2 separate regions of the Homo sapiens genome follow, and region 2 is linked to region 1. Evidence: promoter capture Hi-C in 16 types of primary human blood cells and fetal thymus (Javierre and others, 2016). All regions are on one chromosome and are shown on one strand. The core of a region is centred on a gene start or on the middle of the fragment in contact, and the rest is flanking DNA. Distances in the headings are between cores, read along the strand shown. Region 1 holds the start of GRM5-AS1 (GRM5 antisense RNA 1). Region 2 has its middle 4.8 kb from the start of MIR3166.

What was found. Contacts are between HindIII fragments. The CHiCAGO score rates a contact against its expected background, and 5 or more counts as called.
Region 2: a contact is called between a fragment that was not itself captured here and the fragment with the promoter of GRM5-AS1 in region 1, in 2 of 17 cell types (activated CD4 T cells and monocytes). The highest score is 6.1, in activated CD4 T cells.

Annotation. Positions count from the first base shown.
Region 1 is chr11:88,501,335-88,508,459 of GRCh38, forward strand. GRM5-AS1 (GRM5 antisense RNA 1) reads left to right here and starts at 3,242. Exons shown (of 6, transcript NR_049724.1): 1 at 3,242-7,125. It overlaps GRM5 (glutamate metabotropic receptor 5), which reads right to left. Exons shown (of 10, transcript NM_001143831.3): 10 at 3,308-7,125. The HindIII fragment of the contact is 8,959 bases long and covers 2,089-7,125 here.
Region 2 is chr11:88,177,790-88,184,914 of GRCh38, forward strand. No RefSeq gene overlaps it. Among named protein-coding and RNA genes, the nearest start is that of MIR3166, 4.8 kb to the left of the region's middle. The HindIII fragment of the contact is 2,368 bases long and covers 1,541-3,908 here.

The DNA.
Region 1 (7,125 bases), core at 1,992-4,491:
TAGCTAGGATGTTCTCCTAATTTTGTTGCTAAGTTGTCTCGGGTTATTAGAGTGGGTACTTGTCTTCCCAAAACAAGATCTTTTTTTCTCTGTATACATTTAGATTGTTTCATTCCTCTTTGAAGAGTAAGATGAATTATTAGGGCTAATGATGGGATTTAAGCTCTTCAGAAAATATGATAGAGAGTACCACACATATAGGGAAGTAAAGGGCTAAAGTCATTATCTTAAATATGCAAGAGTAGAAATGCATTTATGTGGTATGTGTTATAGATGTGTTCATGTAGTTTTGCTCTTATGTTTTTAAGTTAGAAAGAGTTTCTAAAAATAGCTTCTGGATAATAAGCTGATAGACTTCTACTGCTTTTGAAATACATTTCACTGGTTAGGCAACATCTATTAATGCTGTATCTCACATATTGCTTCATCTGAGGCTGTTGAAGTTAAGGAAACTTAATTTCATTTGGTTCAAAACGTTTTGAACAAAAATGAAAGAACATAAATTGTAAAAGAAATCCCTCAGCTTGACCCGTGAAAGTAAAGTAAATGTGCTGACAGAGGTCTAAGAAATCAAAAAATGGGAAGAGAACAAATAATAAAATTGAGCAAGACTTCCAATGGTTCAGTAAAATGGCTCCTGAAGACAATGTTATAACTCTATCAATCTGTGTTTACTTCTCTAAAGGCCTAAGGAGATCATCATGGAAATGGCAATGAATTTTGAAAACTAAAAGAAAAAGTGTGTATAAATTATAACTTTTATATCATAGCATTTCCAAAATTCTTTTCATGAAACTCTACTCTGAGGAGACAGCTTCATTAGCAAAGTTAATGGATATTAGAATACTATAAATTGGGCCGGGCACGGTGGCTCACGCCTGTAATCCCAGCACTTTGGGAGGCCGAGGCGGGCGGATCACAAGGTCAGTAGATCGAGACCATCCTGCGAATGGTGAAACCCCGTCTCTACTAAAAATACAAAAAATTAGCCGGCGATGTGGTGGGCGCCTATAGTCCCAGCTTCTTGGGAGGCTGAGGAGGGAGAATGGTGTGAACCCGGGAGGCGGAGCTTGCAGTGAGCCGAGATCGCGCCACTGCACGCCACTGCACTCCAGCCTGGGCTACAAAGCGAGACTCCGTCTCAAAAAAAAAAAAAAAGAATACTATAAATTGGTAACTTCCGAAGTGAAGATAGCCATTTAATTTGGAATTACTACATTTTTCAAACTTTTAAGACTCTAAGAACTTTTATGAATCACCTATTACTATTCAGCAGTTCAGAAAAGCCACAATTTATTATGTGGTTTTCACGGACATAGAATTTGTATAATTTAAAATATAACATCTATCTCATCATAGAAATCTGATAGTATGAAAATTTTTATTTTTAATGTCAATGAATAAAAATACAAGCTATACATAAATAAGCCAAAGTGTCTGATATGTATATCACATAGGTATCCTGTATATAGATCATACCTCAAAGAGACTTATGTCCTGGCAAAAATAAATGTCTTTGTCCTGGTGTAACAGTAATTTAAAACATTTATTCTAGTGGAGGTTAAGTGTTCCTGGAAACTTTTGGTTCAGGATTCTAAGAGTGGCTGGAGAAGATGAGTTTAAACATTCTCTTCATAGAACTTATTTACTAACATAATAACCTAAAAGTAATAAACAGAGTGAGATGTAATAACTGATTCTGAGTTTTAAAATACTGTGAGAGAAAATGTAAATACCAAGCTTTTGCTTAAGGAGATAACTTCATTAATATAATTCTGCCTATCTATGTGCTTACCTACCTTTCTGCCTAGCTATCATACAAAGTAAATATTTGCAAATTGTTTATGTTCTAAAACTGATCATTCATGTACAGCATAACCAAAAACTTGGCCAGCATTCAGCAGCAATTATAACAGAGGAAAAGCATTCTCTCTGTGGTGTTCAATATCAATTTACTAAGTTGTCCTTGATAGACAGTTCCAAGGTTGCATATGAGTTCAAACCTCAATAGGTTTCCTCCAGGATATATGCTTTAAGTTGGACAGGAACTTGTTAAGCTCCACAAATAACATTGATATAACAAATTTAAGCTTCCTGCTGAATATTAACTGTATACTAAATACTACATTGACACTAATAATAGCTACTATTGAGCATTTATCAGGAATGTTGAAATGATAGAAACTTCACAGATTATTGTAACTCACTTCTGCATTTAAAGCAAGAGGAACAAGTTGTAGAGAAATCAGAGTGATTTATCCAAAGTCAGTTGGTGACAGGTAAGAGATCCTGGCTTTTAATTCAATGCTATTTCTATTGCATCCGCTGGTTTTAAATGGCCTTCCATAATTTGATGGAGTCTGATAAGGCTCTTTGGATTTTTAGAAGGTAATTTCCTGTACCTGGTTTGTATATGTCACTTCATCCTCAATTTTATGTGAACATATTACCATTCATATCACGTTAGAATAAAAGATACTGAAGGGAAGAGTCTGACAAAACAGATAAAATGGCTTTCTTTGTTAAGATCAAACACATTCTGTATAATATATGTATCTACATATGTATATATATCATTATGCATTTAATACAATGTCAGAAGCATAAATCAAATATATTTTTAAATATACCTTGTTTTTCTCTTCCATACATCAAGCATCTACCTTATATTCTGCTGTTAGTTTTTCACTAATTTGTGTCCAGGGAATGTATATTTGCTCAAGAATCAGTCAAAGTAAAACTTTTTTTTTTTCTGGAAAAATTATGTAATATGCACATACATCTACACACAAACACACATATACACAGAGACACATGCAGATGGACTCAAAAGTCAAATGTCTATATAAATATGTATGTTTGTAAACACACATCTATACACACACAAATAATCTATTTTATCTGTGTGATGTTACCTCTATCAACACATATAATTATGAAACTATTTCTATAATTTGTATGTCTAGATGCATAAACAATGCATATTTCCTATATATTTTTTTAAGTACTTCTTTATGTAACAGTTGTTTGTAGATGTGTTTGGGGACAACATCTCTGGTTGGTTTGTGGTTGGTTTATATTTTCATTTAAATCTATACAGTCCACTGCTTACTTTGTAAACCCCATAATTCAAATGTATAGATCATCCAGTATTCAAGATTAATTAGTATCATGGCTCTTTTCATCTCAGAAAACACTATTAAGACAACATTCTAAACATTTGAGGGGAATAATCTTAAAATCATATTATAGGTTTTTTAATTTTTTTGAAAAGTAACTGGCTTCACAAACACCAAGTACAACATGATTTAGACAACTGAGAAACAGGCAAGTATATTTTGAAGTGCTAAAATAAAACATATTTATACAAGTACAAAGCAAAACAATGCTGATAAAAATGTTAAACTTTATGAAAAAAAATCATTTGCAGTTCACATCAAAATAATTTAACATTCTCTATTATTTTAATAGTACAAGCTGCCACAACAGAGAAAGAACAGATACACGCACACAATTTTAAAACCAAATCAGTTATAAGTGCAGAAAAAAGTAAGTACAAGCACTTTTAGCCCACACAAATCTTTTAGGATTGGCACCATCTTTCTAAAACATCTATAATCTATATAGATTTCTAATTACAACACCATCAGCAGCTGCCATTGATTTCTAGAAATACACACAATATACATAGTATATTTGTTCACATTGGGAAGATCAGTGAAATTCAACCAACTATTTTATACATGCCTCATTCTTCAATAGACAGTAGAGACTCTCCCAGGCCTCAGACCCTCTTCAAAGTGAATTCTGACTTGTCTTTATGCTTTCACTGATCTGTATTTTTTCACAGTATAAAATTGTAAATGGTAACTATAGAGATTCTGACAGCTTGAGGGTTATTAATAAGCTGTTGCTAAATGTGAACTCACATAATACCTTTGAAGTCTCCAAAACATGTACATTTTACTGGGAGACTAGCATAGGAAATGCTTTTGTTTTTTGTTATTCTTAAAAAGAGCATTTAATTCCTGGCTTGGAAGTCACAGAACTGCAGCAGAGCTATTATACAATTCATTTACAGTCAGAAATAGCTCCTAGTCTTCCTGATCACTTGCTGGTAACAGCAGTAGTTTGGGAAAGATAGTTACTTTCAAGGATTAGCACGTTTGGGGATTTGCTTTTTTTCCTTGCTTCAGTCAAATCTCTTATAATTTTTCTTTCCATACTCCCTTTCTGTTCCCCATCCCTAGCCCAGAAAGACGGTTCTTCCCAATCCAGATATGTTCTTCTTAGGCTGCCCCCACTCCTTTCCCAAAATGGAAGGATGAGTGGACTGCTTAGATTAGTCAGTATAACTTGGTTAAACCACGTCTTCTTCTTTCCATCCTGGGACATATCTCTCATTTAGGGTCACTTTGCTGAGCCTTAGCATATCCCCTTCCTTTTAGTCATGCTGGTCCCGACTGAATTATCACTGGGCACCAGGAACAGATTGTTTTGAAGGAAATTCAATGAGAATGTACCCAAATGAATTGTGAAGTTCATATCCTATAGCCCTAGAATGAATATTCAGTTCTCTTTGTACTGTAGAGTTATTACTTGGAACCTGGTATTAGAATTGGCAAAGAGACAGAGTTAGCATCATTCCAAAATAAAAGATCTCAAGAATGCATTACTAATAATCTTATGTCCAACATACAATGTATTCAATGGAGTGGCAAAAGTTATAGAAATACAGAGAAAAATATATCTTGTCCTTTTCTAATTGGATAAATCATTTTTATTATTACAGTTGATTATGATAGCATGTGGAAGTATCAGATGGCAATTTACTTGCATTAAATTTAATTTCTGATGAAGTTTTTTATAAGGTAGTGTGCTTTTTAAGAGATATGTTACTAAAAAAATAGAAAATGAATTTGACCATGAACAAAGTTTAAACATGTTCTTCAACTGGTCTAGAGTGAAACGTATTGTACTTGAGAATAAAATGAAAATCAACATAAGGATTTTATAAAACAAATTTTAAAATGTAGAGCATATCAAGAAAGGTTTTTAATACCTAAGAAGTCAAGATAGGAATCCTCAGGTGAATGCCATCCTTTTGATGAGGATCCAAAGGGTATTAACACCTCAAAAGATTTCCATTTGTTTTTCAGATAGAGGCAGACATTTGCTTTTAATGAAACCATGAAACTTAGCTAGATTTCACTTACATTTTAAAAGCCTCGGTGTAATATTTGGGATCAGGGTGCTGTGATGATGTTATTTTCAAATCTAGCATGGGAGGTTCGATTTCTTTTAAATTAATACTTTAGTACATTAATGTTAGCTTTTAATGTTTTGTATTGGGAGGTTTGACTTAAAGTTGCAAGTAAGAACAAATAGCAGAAAAGAAAACTCAAGCAGAATATTTATTAGAATTTTTTAAAGTGAAGAATGATAAATTATGCCAATGGACTGACTTCTATTTCTCAGTTTATTTTCTGTTAAGTAGATGTGAAATAAAAAAAAATACTTACCAAAGTAAGGATATTGAGCTAAAAGAAAAAGTTTTATTTATTATTCTCTCTGCCAAAATATACTTCTGCCTCACAGCACATATTTTTCATAAGGCTATCTTAAGTATAAGGCTGGGTCAACTGAACTTTAAATTTATAGGACACCTCCTCCATTTATTACTATCCTTATTTAAAAATCAAAACATTTGGTACCTGAGGATAGCTGCAATGGGAGGAAGAAAGAGATGACAGTGGATTCAGGTCTTGAACTATGAATTCTACCTATTTGAGACTATCAAAGCACACTTGTTTCTGTTATACTCTAAATCTCTTTTCTGTAGTTTTAAAAAGTGACAGTATGAAGTGCACAAAATCATATTAATCATTATTTTAAAAAAGAAAATAAGAATTGCTTTGCCTCTTTTTGGAATGGCTAAGAAAGACTGTGTGGTTAATATTCATTAAGGTTCCTCTTTTTTAGTATTTTGTATTGCTTTGAAAAATCTACATTTGTCATAGTTCATAGCTGCCCTGTTTAAGCAGCCAAGAATAGTTAAAATCACTGCTCACTGGCATAGCTAAATCTCCACTAAGCTGACTTGACACAGTTAAAATTTTCAGTGTATTAAGATTGTGTTAATCCTTTCAACAACAGTCTCTCAAATCATGACAATGTCTTCATGGGGTCTATGGACCACTCTTCCAGTGGTGGGACTCGAAAAGAACAAAGGAGCTCTTTGTGCATCAGGTTCTCAAAATAAAGGAATGAAGAAGCCCCAATGCATATTTTAATATTTTAGTTGGCAATGCAAACGCAACAGCATTCCTAAAGAGTGGCCATGTTTCTTGAAAGAGATAGCCAGGCTGGAGCTCAAGAATGATTTTTATAAAGAGAATTTCCAGCTACAATGCACCCCAGTGAGGGAATTACAAAACAGTATTCCAGAAAATATTTTTTTTGCTACTCCAGTATTGATTGGCAACATGGTGAAATAGTCAAGAAATCTTCCACTGGTTTTCTTGGTTAATGGAGGTGAATCTGAAATAAGTAGGTGGAATCCCCGATGCAGGCTTTTGGAAGAGTATTTCACAACCCAATTGGAGAGGAAAATCTCTGGTAGAAGCCCTACGTAGTACATTAGCGCAGCACTCACTATCCAGTAGTGTGTTATGCATGGGACACATTCACAACGCCTCCGTAAATACTGGACCCAAGTTACTGCTTTTCAAGGTCTTTACAGGAAAGAAAAAACAAAAAGAAAGAAAAAAGAAAGAAAAAAGTTGATGTTTTGGTCCCAGATTTTGAGTTTGTTAGAAAATGTACATTCATGTTTGGTGAATCAAAGACTCTTCTGGGAAAAGAATTAAAGTAAACAAATAAAACTTTTTACAGTTGCTTATTAACTATGCTCTTCACCCTCCGTTACGCTGTTTCACACGCACTGCTTCCCTAGAGCAAAGCACTTGGTATGGAACTGTTTGAAGAGACGCCTTGTCAGCCCTCAAAGATATCAGCCGTGTTTCTTAAAAGCCCATGTTTTCTAAGGCCACTAGAAGAAAATCTGCCAAAAGATTTGTCGTCGGTTTCTTCGTCGGTTGTCATGAGATAGCACTACTGATCTCG
Region 2 (7,125 bases), core at 1,475-3,974, 320 kb before region 1:
TCACATCTAACAAGTGAGACAAATACTCTACCTGCTTAAAGAATTAGCCAACAATGTCACCTCACTTCCCAGGGAGGGGAATTCAGTAGCCCAAGATGCTTAAGCCATTCTAAATGCCTGCAAAATTAGGGAGGATGACAAAATGAGACCTTTGCCAGCTCTAAAATCCTGGGTCTGTAAATCTGAGAGACAGGCTTTGTCTGGCCAACAAGCTCCTGGGGTAGAAACAAGGTAGGAGTTTGAGACATCTTGTGGGCCAGCCTTCAAAATTATACCCAACCCAACTTTCTTACCAGCCCCGTACTGTTTTCCCAAGCCTGGTCCCGGCAGAGTCATCCTCACCCTTATCTGTTCTCTTTTGAGCAAGAGCATATTGGAACATCAGACATTTGGATTTATGAGGTAGGACAGGCAGGGCAAAGTTCAGGATTTCTGGTCCTGAAGCTGATAAAATTGGAGGAAGTAGCTTTTTGAGCAAAAGAATGCAAAATCAAAAATATATAATTAGGTCTAGGGCCTTGGAAGGGGTCCTGAAGCTTCAGTTTTATTGCCTCTCTGGGGGTAGGAGATTCCTCTCTCAGGGACAGCAGCCAACCATGGTGAGCAAGTTCCTTGGCCAGGCAGGAAGTATGTGCAGTTTTGTTTCCAGCCGTACTCATTTAGGTCTCATGATCATTCTTCACAGTGGGAAGAAATTACTCTCGGTTTATATTTTTAAGACTTTTAGATTACAGTAGCTTGGTAAGCACCCCAGCCTAGCAGTTCAGTAAAATCTTCGTAAAAGGCGCCTAGGTCTCTGAACCTGAAAGTCCCTTGGGTAAAATGAGGGAGTTAGGTTGCAAGATCTCTGGAAAGTCCTTTGGACTCTAAAATATCAGAATTCTGGGTCTTCTAGACATTGTCTAGTAGGAGTGACACCCTAGCTGATTCTAGTCACCCCACAAGAGCACCACTGCCAAAGAGGTGATGTTTTCTCTCCTCTTTTAGGTTTGGAAGAAAGGCCATCTCAAAGCAAACATGATGCCATAGTTCTCCTCTGGTTTCATGGTGCTATTCTTTCCTCTGCTGCTGTACATTTTCCCACAAGACAAAGGCAATCCAAGAACATTCTTTTTGGAGGACAAACCTTCATGTACTCCCCTTCCTTGCTTTGAACTTATTTTCTACACTCAGAACTAGGCTGCAGACAGGGAGCCAGGTAGCCAGGGACAAACTATAAACTGGATCAAGCCAGACAGTGAATAGATGGAAAGGATATTATCAAGCAGCTAGACCATTCTTGCCTCCTCTTTCATTCAACCCTGTCCCCTGCAATTATGATGCTTCTTCAGAACCTATCTTCCCCAACCTGAACATATACCTGTCAAGATGGCTTAGGATTATCAGGAGGATCTCAGCTTTTTCTGACACAAAAGATCCAGTGCTTCCTCCCCATGGAGAGAACAGCTGTGCCATTCGTCCCCCTCCCAGCAGCCACACTGCACCATGGAAACCTGTTCTCCACAGTAATTCTCAAAACATCTCTGGTGATGTTTTGACAAGCTTACTACCCTCAAATTGCTAAACCACAGCACATCTTCTCACCAAGGTCGGGAAGGCTGATGACTCAAGTTTGTAAAAGGTGTGTGAGACCACAAAGTGCTCAGAATTCAAGCCAAGAATGATATCCCAGAAGGCACAGCATTAGGTTTCTCTTAGTCTCCATTCCCTTTCTGTCCAATGTGGGTACTTAGTCTTATGAAATGGAAAAACTACAATGATTGCAAATTGCTTTGCAAATGTAAACTTGAAGGGACAAACCCTCATGTTTTCCTCCTAGAGCTGCTGTGTTTGGTGAGCCCCTGTGAAGTCACATTATTTGCTTTTGCCATTAAGAGAGCCATGGGGAGTTATTCATTAGCTTATGTGAGCTTTTAATTATTGCTCTGAAGAAATATGTAAATGACTGCAAGATGGGGTCCCAAGGGCTCTGTTATAGAAAAGGTAATCTAATTTTTCTTAGATTAATACAAGAAATATATCTTACAACAGATGAATTTTACTCTGCAAAAGGCCTGGAAGAAATGACCATATATTTTATCATTCAAACTATGACTCTTGAGAGTGAAAGGGGGCACTATGAATAATTACACCAAACAACAGGAACAAGCCAGGACTTTCCTAAAGAATATTCATTCCTAAAGAAGAGGGAGAAGTTGAGGCTCTCAAATGAGATCTACAGCTATAGGGGCTTTGGAAAATTCTCCTAAACCACAATTTTAATAAATAGGTCTGCCAAGTTAAAGTTGCAGCTTATTTCTTTCTTGTCTTCAAAAAGTTCTCTCTTTACCCACTAGGCTTGTCTGAAACCTGTGCTAACTTGCAATTTGAGTCATCTAGTATTGATTCAGGATTGCAGCAGATGTCTAGAAGTAGGAAGCAACTTTTGGGTTATTTGGAGAGAGGCCAAGATGGATTCTGTATGGGATGTTCTTGAAATAAATACTCTTCAGTCTATGAGAAATTTCTGGCTAGATTTTTTTCCAGAAAAAAAAAGACTACAATAGGATATTTACGGGTTATCATGAGAAACTGATTGTAAGTGCATTTTTTAACCCACCAGTAGTATGAATCAAGAAAACCAGAGTATGACCTAAACCATTTTCAGCAGTGTATTTATCACCAACTAAAATTATGTGCCTTAGCTGTGCCAGACAGGCATGGCTGAATCGGGGTGTATTTTTCTACTAACACATCTAACATGGATGAGTGGAAATAAGCTATGGAATGGCCGAAAGGCAAGCATCTGAGAACATGGAGAAAAATGATTCTGTATGTACTAGAATTTCAACTTCCTTATCCTGGGAACCTACAATGAGCTAAGCCCTTTATCTTGGTAAGTTTATTTGATCTTCACGACCACTCTGTAGCAAGTATCTTCACTTTATAATGAGGGAAATAGGGCTCAAAGAATTTAAATAATTTTTCCAAAGTCACAGATATGGAGTGACAGCATGAGAATCGTAACCAGTAATTCCTAAATCTGTGCTTTTTCTACTATACCACACTCCTTTAGCATGTGATAAATTCCAGGTCCAGGCTTCTACTGTAGCTTTGTTTCTGCTATGCTACTAAATATTCAGGCTATAAAGAAAAGAGATTGATTCTATTTCCATTTGATAAAGTCTTAACTATGCAGGGAAACAGCCAATAAAGGAAGAAAAGAAAAATCTATGATTCAAAGATAAAAGGATATATCCCATAATCTCTCACCAACTCGGGCAGAAAGTCAACACAAGTAAAAGTGGCATGCTGTGCATTTGTGGGGAGAGGTCTGACCCAGTGCACATAGAGAGCATATACAAGGAATCTACTTCTGTTGCTCTCAGAGAAGGCGATAGGATAGTACTGAGGCTGTACAGTGAATGAACCCCTATTCCATAATGGGTGATGACAGAGAGACTGGTAGGGTCTAGCTCAGAAGGTTAACGCAAGAAAATTACTGACAGACCATCACAGCATAAACGAAGAAATATTTATGTACAAAGCATTGTAACAGAGTTTTTTGAGGATCAGGGTCAGAAGAAAGGTCTCACGTTTATCTCAAAGAGTGTATAAGATATAAGTCCCTGCCATCAAAAATGCTTCCATTCTGGTTAAAGCATCAGCATGTATACACATGACCTTCTGCCTTCCACTCTGACCTTCTTAGACTCCTTCACAACTTCCCTTCTTTTCTGCCCATCCACTAAAGTTTGCTATTCTTCATCCTTGGGACTCTGACTTTCCCTGCTTGAGCTCATCTACTCCTGTGACAATAGAGCAAATGGGGTTAGGAACTCTGGAATCAGGTGAGCTTACCTGATTTCACATTCAAGTTCTACCACTACCCAGTCATAAGAACTTTGTAAAGTAGTTTAACTTTTGCAAGCTTGTCCCTTCATGTATAAAATGAGGATAATAATTTTAACCTCCTATTTTTTTTTTGAGAAGACCAAATAAAATTCTGTGAAGTGCTTAGCATAGTGCTTGGCCCAGGATATGCACTGAAAAGAACATGTTGTTAAACTATCAAATGTCTGCTGATGATTTCTATATCTGTATTTAAAACACAACCTTACTCCTGCATTCCATAAACTTGTTCCAACTGCCCGTTGGGCATTTCTACCAGGCTTTCTGGCAGACAGTTTAAATGCAACATGTGCAAAACTGAACTCATTATCTACCCTAACAGACTTGTTCCCTTTCCTGTATTCCTGGTTTTTGGTCAGTGGTTCCACCCTCACCAAAGTCTACCAAGCTCAAAAACTCAGTCACTCTTGATTCCTCTCTCTTTGTTACCCATCTCAGACAAATTCCTGACAGCATTTCCACTACTTCACAAAATTACTATTATAACAAAAAGGTGAATATTTATGCATTATTATTGTGGAGAAAGGACCTTTGAATATTATGTGAAAGGCAGAAATAATAAAAGGAAAAAAAAAAAACTAAACGTGTAGACATTAACAATTACCAGAAGCAAGAAAAATGATACTTTCAGAATGAGAAAAATTTTACAACATTTAAGACAGGCAAAAGGAAATATACCTTATATTAAATTGTTCTAATAATTTTTTAAACACTAAATTAGATAAAGATATAAATAAGCAATTGACCACACAAGACAAACAAAAAGCCAATAATGTGAAAAGTGTATTTTTCACTAGGATAGTAATAAAAGTATGAAAATTAAGCAATAATGTAATACCATTTTTTACTTTTTAAATTGACAAATATATTTTAGTACTAAAAATATCCAATTTTGATGAGAATGTAAAAAATGGATACTATCATATGATCCTGTGGTGGGACTAACATAAGAAAAAGTTGTTAAAGGGAAATGTGGTTATATGTATCAAAAACCTTAAAATGCATGTGCCCTTTGTTAATTCCATTTTTAGGAATTTATGGTAAGGAAATCACTAAAGATGTATGTGACGATTTAGCTTTAAGAATTCCGATTGCAGTGTTGCTTATAAAAACAAAAATTCACAACTCCCTAAATACACATGAGGTTAAATATTGTAATGGTATACGTATGTGCTGGCACATTATACAGCCTTTATAAACAATGTTGAAGAAAATATTGCAGCTGGAAAAATGTTCACAATTTTTTTCATAACATTTTTAAATGGGAGGTCAACAAATCACAAAAAGTTAGAGTCCCCAATTTAGCATAAAATACATAATTTCCATTTTACACAAACATGCACACATTGTCGATGGAAAAAAGGTACAGAAAATTATGTACCCACATATTAGAGTTTATCTCTGGATAGTGAGATTATTGCTTCTTTTTTATATATTTTCCTGCTTTTCTATATTCATTTCATTTTTATGGAAATGTTATTGATATCAAAAGAAGAAAACAAAGTTAAAGTCAAATGTGTACTGAATAGGTCTTGGATGAGGATTTCCAGTGGCTCCTGTTCCAGGTTTCAGCATTCAGTGTGTAGAGACAATGAAGTTTCCTGTCTGGCCACCAAGTGCTGGGTGTTTTAGGTTTCAGTATTTTTCTAGCCAACCTTTCTCATTCTGATCACACTAATCTTATCAGCGCTGAGAGGTGTGCCCTCCTAAGGGAACCAACGCACTATTTCATGGGTGGCATGATCAGGCTGATACTCCAAAACCAGTTAGACAAGGTACTCACGCTGTCCTGGAGTGTCTCTGCCATAGTAGCCCTGGCTTAGCTCATGAAGACAAGCTCCATGTGCCTGAAAGGGAATTGACTGTCTCTTCCCAATTTGGATTGAAATTCCCACCAGGGTCACCAATATCCAAACCTTGATATCATCTTCACTTCTTTTCTGCTTGTGCCCTACTTTTCCATTTCAACACCAACTTGCAAATTCTTCTCTCCGGTGTCTCTTTCATTCATGCTGTCATTTCAGTCCCTCTTAATATCTCATCAAGTAGTTGTTCCCTAAGGACATCTTCCTGATTCAGTTTCCCCTGCTTTTTCCTATCCCTTACCACTCTCAGATCAATCTTCAAAAATAAATTACTACAAGCTGGGCATGTTGGCATCTGCCTGTAGTCCCAACTACTGGGAGGCTGAAGTGGGAGGTTCACTTTAGCCCAGGAGTTCAAGTCCAGACTGGGCAACATAGCAAGACCCTGCCTCTAAAAAGTAAAATAAAATAAAGTTACTACTGCAATAGGACACTCACTCCTCTTATCCCAACCTCTGAACTTATGTGTGAGAGGAATACATTGTTTGGTTTAACCTTTGGATGAGTTGGGTTTTCTGTTTATGCAGCCAAACCAAACCTTAAATGATAAATCTCCTTGAGTCTGAAAGAAGTCATGTCTCTGCTTAGCATGCATATATAATAGCAGTTTATATGTATGCCATTTCACCATTCTACCTCTCCCCAACATTCTTTTTGTAGATTTTGTTGCCCTCCTCTTTGACTCTGCCCATGAAATCAGAAGCATATACCCTACCAGCACAAGGTGCAGCCTGCTCCATGATACTGGCATGCTCAAGAAATGGTCCATACTTGTTTATGCCAGGCTGTATTTAATGTCTTGACTACTACAGGCACTCAGTAAGTCTTTTAATGACAATGAAAAATATGAATCATGCAAGACCATGTCTTATGTTATTGGCAACAATTTTGAGCCTGAAATGCAGTAAGCTACCTGGCATTTTGTTTTATTTATTTTATTTTATTTTTTTATAAGAGGCTTGAACTTTGCTACTGGCATCCATAAAAAGCAATGGGAAGATGAGTGCACAAAGACTGCTAGTGTGGAAGTTATTGGGCTGCATTCCCTTACTGACTCTGCCACTAATTTCAGAGTCAGCCTGATCCCTTTACTTCATACACCCTTTTAACCTCCTTTGAGTATCTTCTCTAAATTGATAGCACCTTCTCAAAAACAACCAGGTCATATGCATGAAGGGTCTTAAAGATAGGCATAATTATCCAACAACTAGTAAGTACCCTTTAAACAGTTGTTCCTCTTCTAAAAATCTGTCCCAAATAAATAATCAGGCAGTCTTTCCAAGATTTATGCACAAGATATTTAATGCAGCATTATTTTTAGTAGCAACCTAAATATTTTTCAATAGAAACTGGCTAAATAGACAATGTC